Linked DNA regions of Homo sapiens: region 2 is linked to region 1. Evidence: promoter capture Hi-C in 16 types of primary human blood cells and fetal thymus (Javierre and others, 2016). All regions are on one chromosome and are shown on one strand. Each heading gives the region's core, a stretch centred on a gene start or on the middle of the fragment in contact. The rest is flanking DNA. Distances are from core to core; before and after follow the strand shown. Region 1 holds the start of STK40 (serine/threonine kinase 40). Region 2 holds the start of PSMB2 (proteasome 20S subunit beta 2).

The links. The method cuts DNA at HindIII sites, captures the fragments that hold promoters and counts their contacts. A CHiCAGO score of 5 or more calls a contact.
Region 2: a fragment that was not itself captured here is called in contact with the fragment with the promoter of STK40 in region 1 in 1 of 17 cell types (erythroblasts); the score reaches 5.4 in erythroblasts.

What each region holds. Positions count from the first base shown.
Region 1 is chr1:36,382,590-36,387,173 of GRCh38, forward strand. STK40 (serine/threonine kinase 40) reads right to left here and starts at 3,335. Exons shown (of 11, transcript NM_001282547.2): 1 at 3,134-3,335. It overlaps LOC124904012 (a long non-coding RNA gene), which reads left to right and starts at 3,602. Exons shown (of 2, transcript XR_007065779.1): 1 at 3,602-3,738; 2 at 3,830-4,584. RefSeq lists silencers at 2,493-2,542, 2,843-2,912, 3,063-3,442 and enhancers at 3,649-4,584, 3,673-3,782, 3,813-4,182. The HindIII fragment of the contact is 3,916 bases long and covers 365-4,280 here.
Region 2 is chr1:35,638,211-35,642,794 of GRCh38, forward strand. It overlaps PSMB2 (proteasome 20S subunit beta 2), which reads right to left and starts at 3,316. Exons shown (of 6, transcript NM_002794.5): 1 at 3,132-3,316. The coding sequence starts at 3,222. RefSeq lists enhancers at 2,291-3,256, 3,045-3,504, 3,257-4,221. The HindIII fragment of the contact is 335 bases long and covers 2,007-2,341 here.

The DNA of each region.
Region 1 (4,584 bases), core at 2,085-4,584:
CTGGGTAAACTCCCCTTAGATTTTCTTTTCAGAAAGAATAAAATAAAACTCTGTGATCTTGTGATCCCTCAGGACACTTCTGACAGCTCAATGGGACATAGTTCTAGTTGCCATGAATTGCTGCAACTAATTCCTAAAAGTTCTTTCCTGTAGCCTGTAATAAGAGCTAACATTTACTACTCAGTGTCTGTTAAGTACTCATCCTGTAACATCTTACTTACTCCTCACAACTGCCCTATTACGAAGGTACTCTTATTGTCCCCATTTTACAGATGAGAAAGCTGTGGTGGAGAGAATAAGTAATCCCTAGTGACCAGCAGGGATAGAAGTAGAACACAGATCTGTCTGATGGCAGAGCCAAATAAGCTTTTTTTTTGAGACAGAGTTTCGCTCTTGTTGCCCAGGCTGGAGTGCAATGATGCAATTTTGGTTCACCGCAACCTCCGCCTCCCAGGTTCAAGAGATTCTCCTGTCTCAGCCTCCTGAGTAGCTGGGATTACAAGCATGCACCACCACGTCCGGCTAATTTTGTATTTTTAGTAGAGAAGGGGTTTCTCCATGTTAGACTGGTCTTGAACTCCTGACCTCAGGTGATCTGCCCACTTCGGCCTCCTAAAGTGCTGGGATTACAGGCGTGAGCCATCATACCCGGCCTCAAATAACCTCTTAACTATTACAATCTACTGCCTTCCCCAAAGGTCAGATTAAAAGCACAAGTTAGCAAACACAGCACCCTTTACAACTGGCCTTCTGAGAGGGCAGTCTTATCTCTCCAGCTGCTCAAGCAACCTACAATCCCAGGAAGAGAGGGGCACATGTGCCAGGCACTTCTGCGCCAGGCAGAGAAGCCCAGGCCAATGCAGGAGCTTGCCATCTGGCACTGGTTGCACATGGTGCTTCCTCAGCAAAGATCCATCGCCCCAGCACCAACTCTCCTCTCTCAGAAGCCTAGGTTTGTCTCCGAAGAGTTCTCCAGCCCTTCAGTCGCTCCTGTCCTCCTCCTTCCCTCCTCTACTGGGACTCCAGTGAAATCTTTCTAAAATATGTAACCAATCATGTCATTCCTCTGCTTCAGACCTTTTCACTTGCTCCCGGCTGCCCTGGGCATGATATCTCAAATTGCTAATATGGCATTCTTTCATGAACCTATACTGCTTCACTTGCACCATATCAACTTCCATACCACTAGATTGAACAATCTGAGATTTCTGGAATAAACTATGAGTTTATTTGTCTATCTCGCTCTCAAAGTATTCATTCTCACCTGGCTAAGCCTCCCCTCCTCTCCTTTTAGACTCAGCTCCAGCATCACTTCTGCCAAGCCTTTTCATGGCACACTCCCGTCCCCACCCCACCCCCAAGGCTGAGCTCACAGCTTTCTCCCTTTCTCCACTGGGCTCCCACAGTACTCTCTTGCTGCTGCTATTAGCTTCTTCTTCTTCTTTTTTTTTTTTTTTTGAGACAGAGTCTCACTCTGTTACTCAGGCTGGAGTGCACTGGCTTGATCTCGGCTCACTGCAACCTCTGCCTCATAGGTTCAAGCAATTCTCCTGCCTCAGCCTCCCGAGTAGCTGGGATTACAGGCCTGTGCCACCATGCCCAGCTAATTTTTCTATTTTCAGTAGAGATGGGGTTTCACCATGTTAGCCAGGCTGGTCTCGAACTCCTGACCTCAGGTGATCCGCCCGCCTCGGCTTCCCAAAGTGTTGGGATTACAGGCATGAGCCACGGCGCCCAGCCACTACTAGCTTCTTTAGACCACATTTCAACCATTTGTTTACAGGTCAATTTCCCTTAATTAGACTGTATGCTCCTTGAAATAAAAATAGATAACATTTATTGAATTCTTATTACGTGGCAAACATGGTTGTATGTTTTACATGTTAACTTTTTACTCTTCATAATATCTCTCTCTGTTATCATCCTTGTTTTATAGACGAAGACACTGAGGCACAGGGAGACTAAGCAATGTGCCCAGGTACACACAGCTGGAAAGTTGCTGAGCCAGAATTTGAACTCAGGAAGTCTGGCTCCAAAGCCTACTCTTAACCACTATGCTGTCTAGCACTTGCCTCTAGGCAAGGACTCTTGTTGTGGTCATGTGAGAAATGAATGAATGAATGAATGAGGACTGTCTAGATTAACCCAACCAACAACTTGCACAGCACGGCCATTAGGAAGCACTAAAGGAGCTCACAGGCACTGTTTACAAACAAGATTATTTTGGCCCTACAATTACACATTCTGCTCTTCCTTATCTCACGCAAAACTACTCAAAGAGGGAAAGGCGCCCAGCCCAGTATGCCTACCCTCTTCCCCACTGGTTCTCAAAACCAAAGCAAAGCCAACCGGTTTCCTCCAGTGACTTAAAACAGAGCAAAGTCTATCCTGCCACACAGAGGGCGGCTGTCATCTCTTCCTTCCGCTAACAAAAGGGCTTCAAACCTGGGGATTGGGGTGGGCAGAAAACTCGGCATCAGGAATCCGAATGTCCCTACCTAACTGGCTGGAAGGCGGGGCCAAGTGGCGTGGGAATGGGCGGGCCTGACCGGCTCGGCAGGTGAAACACTGACCACAGCAAGCTCTCCTTGGAAAAGGCCGGCCAAACGTGGCCTTGGCAAGCAGGTAGCTGTGACTCGTACCTGAACGCCGCCCGGGATATGAAAATTCCCCAGCAGCGGTAGCGCCCGTGCCAGAGTGAGGGCTCTTGGAGGAAGCCCTGGCTGGCCCTCCCTGGGGACTCGTTCTAACTATCAAGTCACCCTCGGGATTAGGAGGGAAACACGGAGAGGCAGAAGGTGTCTTTTTGGAAAGATCTGGCTGGATTCACACGCCGGTTGCTTCACTCACTGGCTGGGTGACTCTAGGCAAAGCTGGCAGTGCCCACTTCCCAGAGCTGCGGCGGGGACTGAAGCTCCCGCGGCCTCCCGGTACCCGGCGCGAGGCAGCCCTCGCCCCTGCCGCCGGGGAAGGGCAGAGCCCCAGCGGAGGAGGGGGCATTCGCCGGGGCCATTTCTGCTGCACTCAGATGGCTTCAGGCTGTCACTCCGATTCCACCGCCGCGGCCGCCGGGGCCCGCCCCGCCTACCCGCAACCCCCACCCGGCTCCCCGCTCCTGGACCCCTGCCCTCACCTTCGCCGGGTGGTCAGAGCTATTCGCCCATAGTCCGTAGCCCAGAGCCGGGGCTGCTCGGCTCTCCCTCCCGGGGGGCCGGGGCCGGGCTGGAGGCGTGCGAGCCTCTCACCGCCGCCTCCCAGCGCAGCCACCCGAGCCGCCGCCGCCGCCGCCGCCGCCTCCCTCCATGGCTGCGGCGCCGCCACCTGACAACGGAAGTGACGCACCGCCCCCCTCCTCCCCAGCCTTAGCCGCGGCCCCGCCCCCCCGGGCCCCGCCCTCCGCCTGCGTCTCCAGCCCCACGGCTTTCGGATTGGGGCGCCATCTTGACGATGGGCGGAAGACTTCAGGCAAGAGGCCAGAGTCCGATTGAGGATTGGTTCAGGGTGGGGTCTGGGCGAAACCTGTTACACGATTGGAGGCCGAGGCTCTAATGGGGCGGTACTTACTGCTGATCTATATCTGCGGCGAGGCTGGGACGGAGGCACCGCCCCGCCCGACCCCACAGAACCTCGCGGGCCCTACACTCCCCCTGCCGAGGTTGAAGTCCCCAGCGGTTGGAAGATCGGCCAATTGTAGTGTATTTATCAGAAAAGTGACTCATCCTTGATCCTCATTTCCCGGTTTGTGGAACTCTGTGAGGAAAGCCCTGCAGTTAGGCTCAATAAAAGACAGAAATTCCTGTCGCAGCGCTCATAATTCATTTCCCTCTAGGTCTGTCGCCTTTGTAGAAACCCCGAGGATGGCAACCTTCAACCTGGAGATCCCTGAAGCCTTGACCAGGGAGGTTTACAGTGAAGCGTTCCTATTAGCGACTACAGCTATCTAACCTCAGTTCCTCCTGCTGCAGTTTCGGTCCCTTTCTCCTCCTCCTCCAGCAACCACGCCCTCCATGAATCAGCTTCTTGCACCAGCAGATGAGCCCTTTAAAGGGATTGCATCAGGCAAGTGACTCACTGGGGCCCTCTAAGAGCCTGGCTTCCCTCCCTTGGCATGCAGAAGCAGCTAGAAGGGCTCAGTGGCAGCAGCACCAGCGGCCGTAGCCCCACTCCCTTGTCCCAGAGGTGTGAGTCAGGGTGTTTGCTGCTTATGATGTCTAACTCTTGGCTGTCTTTCCAGCTGTCCCCTGGGTCACTCTATATCCATGTGTGGGCACACGTGTCTAAGCTTGTGTGCACTGCTGGGTTTTCCTAGGGTGTGTGGCCACTTGTGTGTATGTGCATTTGTCATCTCCACATAGGCAGTGCCAGGACACAAGAGCTGATATGAGTGAAGTCTGGCTGCCTCTACCTGTGTCCTTTGTCTCTGAATGCCTGGTGCCCACTGAGCTGCTGATAGGGCTGACTAACAAGAGTAATCAGGACAGCTCCCACCGTTGTGCCACACTCTGCATGGAGCACTTGAGACAGTATTAGGTAGGAGGCTGTTTACAGCTGAGGAAGCCAGTGCTCAGAGAAGGAAATTAATGT
Region 2 (4,584 bases), core at 924-3,423, 750 kb before region 1:
GGGCAACATATTTAATAAAAACACAAGAGATAGATACTTAGAGACCCCTGAGTTGTACAGGAAACTGCCTGTGTAGCTCTGGGGAATTTCTGATTCTTGACGAGGAACTTACGAGATCCACATACATGAAACAAATGGCCAACAAAATGAACAACATTAGCATGTCATACTGTGGAAAACCAACTGAACTAGAATCCAAGAGACCTTGGTTATGATGTGGACTTGGCACTCTGAACTTCGGCAAATTACTTGTCCTCTCTAAGCCCCAGTTTCCAGATGTGTGAAATGTTATTTCCAAATGTGTGAAATGTTAATAATATGACTTACCCCTGTCTAACTCACAAGTGAGAAAAACTAATGAATTCTATACATGTCCAATATTATGATACTCAGTGTTAGATAATGTAGTTCGGATTATACATGCTATAGGAATTCAGAAAAGAGAGAATTCTGTGTGGGCTGGAGTACTCCGAGTAACTTAAAAGCAATTCTACATAGGCCAAGAGAAAAGAGACATGAAATGCGGCATATAAGCAAACCAAAAGTTATACCACTTAATAAGGTGGCAATCCTCAGCAAATGTCTACTCTATAGTATCAAAATGTTTTTACAAAGTGACATACTGGACAATTGATTGGAAGTTGTATTATCATTTTATACTTGGAGAAAGGAGTCCCAGAAGGTTACTATTTTTTCAGCATTCTTGCCTACTCTAAACAAGCTCCATCGTGAAATGAATGATTAGAAAAAAGTCATCAGACGGCTGGGCACGGTGGCTCACGCCTGTAATCCCAGCACTTTGGGAGGCGGAGGCAGGTGGATCACCTGAGGTCAGGAGTTTGAGACCAGCCTGGCCAAACTGGTGAAACCCCGTTTCTACTAAAAATACAAAAATTAGCTGGGCATGGTGACGGGCGCCTGTAATCCCAGCTACTTGGAAGGCCGAGGCAGGAGAATCGCTTGAACCCAGGAGGTGGAGGTTGCAGTGAGCCGAGATCGCGCCATTGCACTCCAGCCTGGGTGACAGAGCGAGACTCTGTCTCAAAAATAAATAAATAAAATAAATAAAAAAGTCATCATACAATACTAAAATTTCTATTATAATTTGTTTTATACCAGAAAAGACTATAGGGAAAATTGGAATGTGCAGAGTGCAACTATTTCCAATTATTTTTCAAGAACTAACTCAAATTCATCTTTCTCCCATACCATAGTTATCTTTCTTTTATTACTCTTAGGATTTGCTCTTGAACTCATTAATTTAAAAACCAACCTACTACTAACTAGTAATACTTCTTTTATTATATAAAATCATCTTGCAGCATTTATTTCCTTGTTTTCTTAATGTCTTGGACTCTTCTATGGGTTATAAGTAATATACTGCATCCCCTATAATGACTAAAAGTACTGTGTACATAAGTAGGCTTAAAGCACATTCTACTTTTCAATGTGATTTCACATACATTTGGGATGAAACAAAAGACCTGTAAAGATAATGATTATTGTTCTACCTAGACATGACTTAATGTTAAAATCACTTGCTTGTCAAAGACCTTAGTATTCAAAATAATGGACAAATTTACTCTCAAAACAAATTCACTCCTTTGGAAGGACTGGCTTACAAACAAAACTTCTACAAACTAATCATAGAATTTCATAAAGTATAAGGTGCTATGTTAAGTGATTTACATTAATTCATTAACCTTTTGAGATAGGTGCTATTACATTACCACCTTATAGATGTTAGCTCTAGGGCACGGAGTTAGAGAAATTTGCTTAAGGTCACAAGTGGCAGAACCTGGGTTCAACCTATGCAGTGAGTCCAGACATTTTGCCCCTAAGTACTATAATATACTATACTATACTATACTATACTATACTATACTATACTATCTATACTAAATTACTCAATACATAATTTTAAGAAGATTTTGGTTGTTTTTCTGCAGAATCTAAGTTTGTTTTCCTTAACTGATCAAAGACGTGCTACTGTTGAAAAAGTATTAAGCTTTGGTTCAGATGACTTAATGGTCATTTGACAAATATGTTTGGGCACCTACGTACACTTAGTATTATTAAGTACCTGCCTAGTGCTAAGGATTTGCACATAACTCATTTACTAAATCCTCCCGACAAGTTTGTGAGTTTGGTATTGCTAATCTTAAAGATGAGGAAATCTGGGCACTGCAAAATAACTTATACAAACTCATAAGGCAAATAAATGACAGGGCTCCAATCTCTTAACTCCATTAACTACTTAAATATAAGGAAAACCTGGCAGCCATTGCTCTGGAAAACTGGAAAAGAAGAATCGGGAGCCACGGGAAGAAGGAAAATGCCAAGCTTCTGGTCCCACAGTCTCACTCTCCCCAGGATCCCACCTTATGCCGCCAACAAACTAACCTCATTACTAGCGACACCAGGAAACTTATCAGAGATTCGGGGATCTAGAGAGCCAGTCCCACAGTCTCACTCTCCTCAGGATCCCACCTTATGCCGCCAACAAACTAACCTCATTACTAGCGACACCAGGAAACTTATCAGAGATTCGGGGATCTAGAGAGCCAGGCTCTGGGCAGGCGCTTAAACATTTATAAACTGATTCCCTTTAGGCAACTCTCACCAAGCAAGAAGCATTTAGCGAAGGCCAGAGCAGAGCACTGACCCAGGAGCCCTGGAGGAGCAAATGCCAAGGTCCCAGACCTGTCTGCCTGTTTCGCCTGTAATCCCAGCACTTTGGAAGGCCGAGACGGGCGGATCTCCTGAGGTCGGGAGTTCGAGACCAGCCTGACCAATATGGAGAAATCCACATCTCTACTAATAATACAAAAATTAGCCAGGCGTGGTGGCGCATATCTGTTCCCAGCTACTCGGGAGGCTGAGGCACGAGAATCGCTTGAACCCGGGAGACAAAGACTGTGCTAAGCCGAGATCGCGCCATTGCACTCCGGCCTGGACAACAAGAGCGAAACCCCTCTCGAAAAAATAAATAAATAAATAAAATAAGTACGGGCAGGGCAGGCCGGCTTCCATCTCTCAGATCCTCCCTGGTACTTATTCAACCCCCGACAAACTCCTTCTGGCCGCTCCTACACCCCAGGCCTGGCCGGGCCTCCCCTGCTTCCTCTCACCGTCCTTCATCTGGACAATATTGCTGGCGGCCACCCGGTCGGAGGCGACAAGAACATAGTCGGGGCCTTGGATACCGATGAGGTACTCCATGGTGGCGGAAGGCCAGGGGCTGCAGGTCCGACACAGCACGAGACTCGCCCGCTTCCAGGTCTCACCGGTGAGACAGCACCTCAGAGCGAAGATTGGCGCGACGCCTGCAGCACGACTTCCACGGCGCTCTCGGATGACGTACAACTGTCGCGAGAGGTTGCAAAGCGGGCGCGGCGCCGGGTGCCTTATGTTCAGTGCTTGTCTCTGGGATCGTACGGGTCTCCTCCGGAGCAGGCTGTGCAGGTCACTTGCCTTATGTGACGCCCAGTTTCTCTGTTTACACACTAAGATTTTAAAAGTGGCTTTAGGATAAAATCACGCAGTGTATGTAAGGTGCCGAGCACGTGTGGGTGTCAAAAAGGGGTAGGTAGCCAGGCAGCCGTTTCCCTACGTTGCTCGGTAAAATCTCCCCAGAAACCCCTTTCCTGCAAGCCAGATTGGAGAAAAATTAACTTGAGGGGAGCCTTACTTCCATCCTTCACAAAAATAGTATATGGTTGGATTAAAGATATAAGCATGGCCGGGCGCAGTGGCTCACGCCTGTAATCCCAGCACTTTGGGAGGCCAAGGCAGGCGGATCACCTGAGCTTGGGAGTTCGAGACCAGCCTGACCAATATGGAGAAACCCCGTCTCTACTAAAAATACAAAATTAGCTGGGCGTGGTGGCGCATGCCTGTAATCCCAGCTACTCTGGAGGCTGAGACAGAGAATCGCTTGATCCCTGGAGGCGGAGGTTGCGGTGAGCACTCCAGCCTGGGCAACAAAAGCGAAACTCCGTCTCAAAAAAAAAAAAAAAAAAAAAAAAAAAAAAAAAAAAAAAAAAAAGAGAGGGAGAGAGATACAAACATGGAAGAAAAAGTAGAAAAATATTTCTGTAATTTTTGGAAGAGATGTGTTTCTAAGCTTGACAGGGAACCCAGAAGCAATATGAGAAAAGACTTGACAGATTTGACTACCTAAAATTACACGTCTCTATGTGGTGAAAGTCATTATCATGCTCAACAGTAAATGTAAATTGGGAATGTTTCAATTGTAGAAATAGTTACTATTTTGGACCTTATAGACAGAAGAAAGGAAAAAGTTAATATCTATAACTTAAAAGATATTCCTACAAACCAATGGGAGGGGAGCCGGGTGAGACAATACCATTTTTAAAAGACCCGGCAGGGCACGGGGGCGGATCAAGAGGTCGGGAGTTCGAGAACAGCCTGGCCAATATGGTGAAACCCCGTCCCTACTAAAAATACAAAAAATTAGTTGGGCGTGGTGGCAGGCGCCTGTACTACTCCGGAGGCTGAAGCAGGAGAATTGCTTGAACCTAGGAGGCGGAGATTGCAGTGAGCCGAGATAGCGCCCCTCCA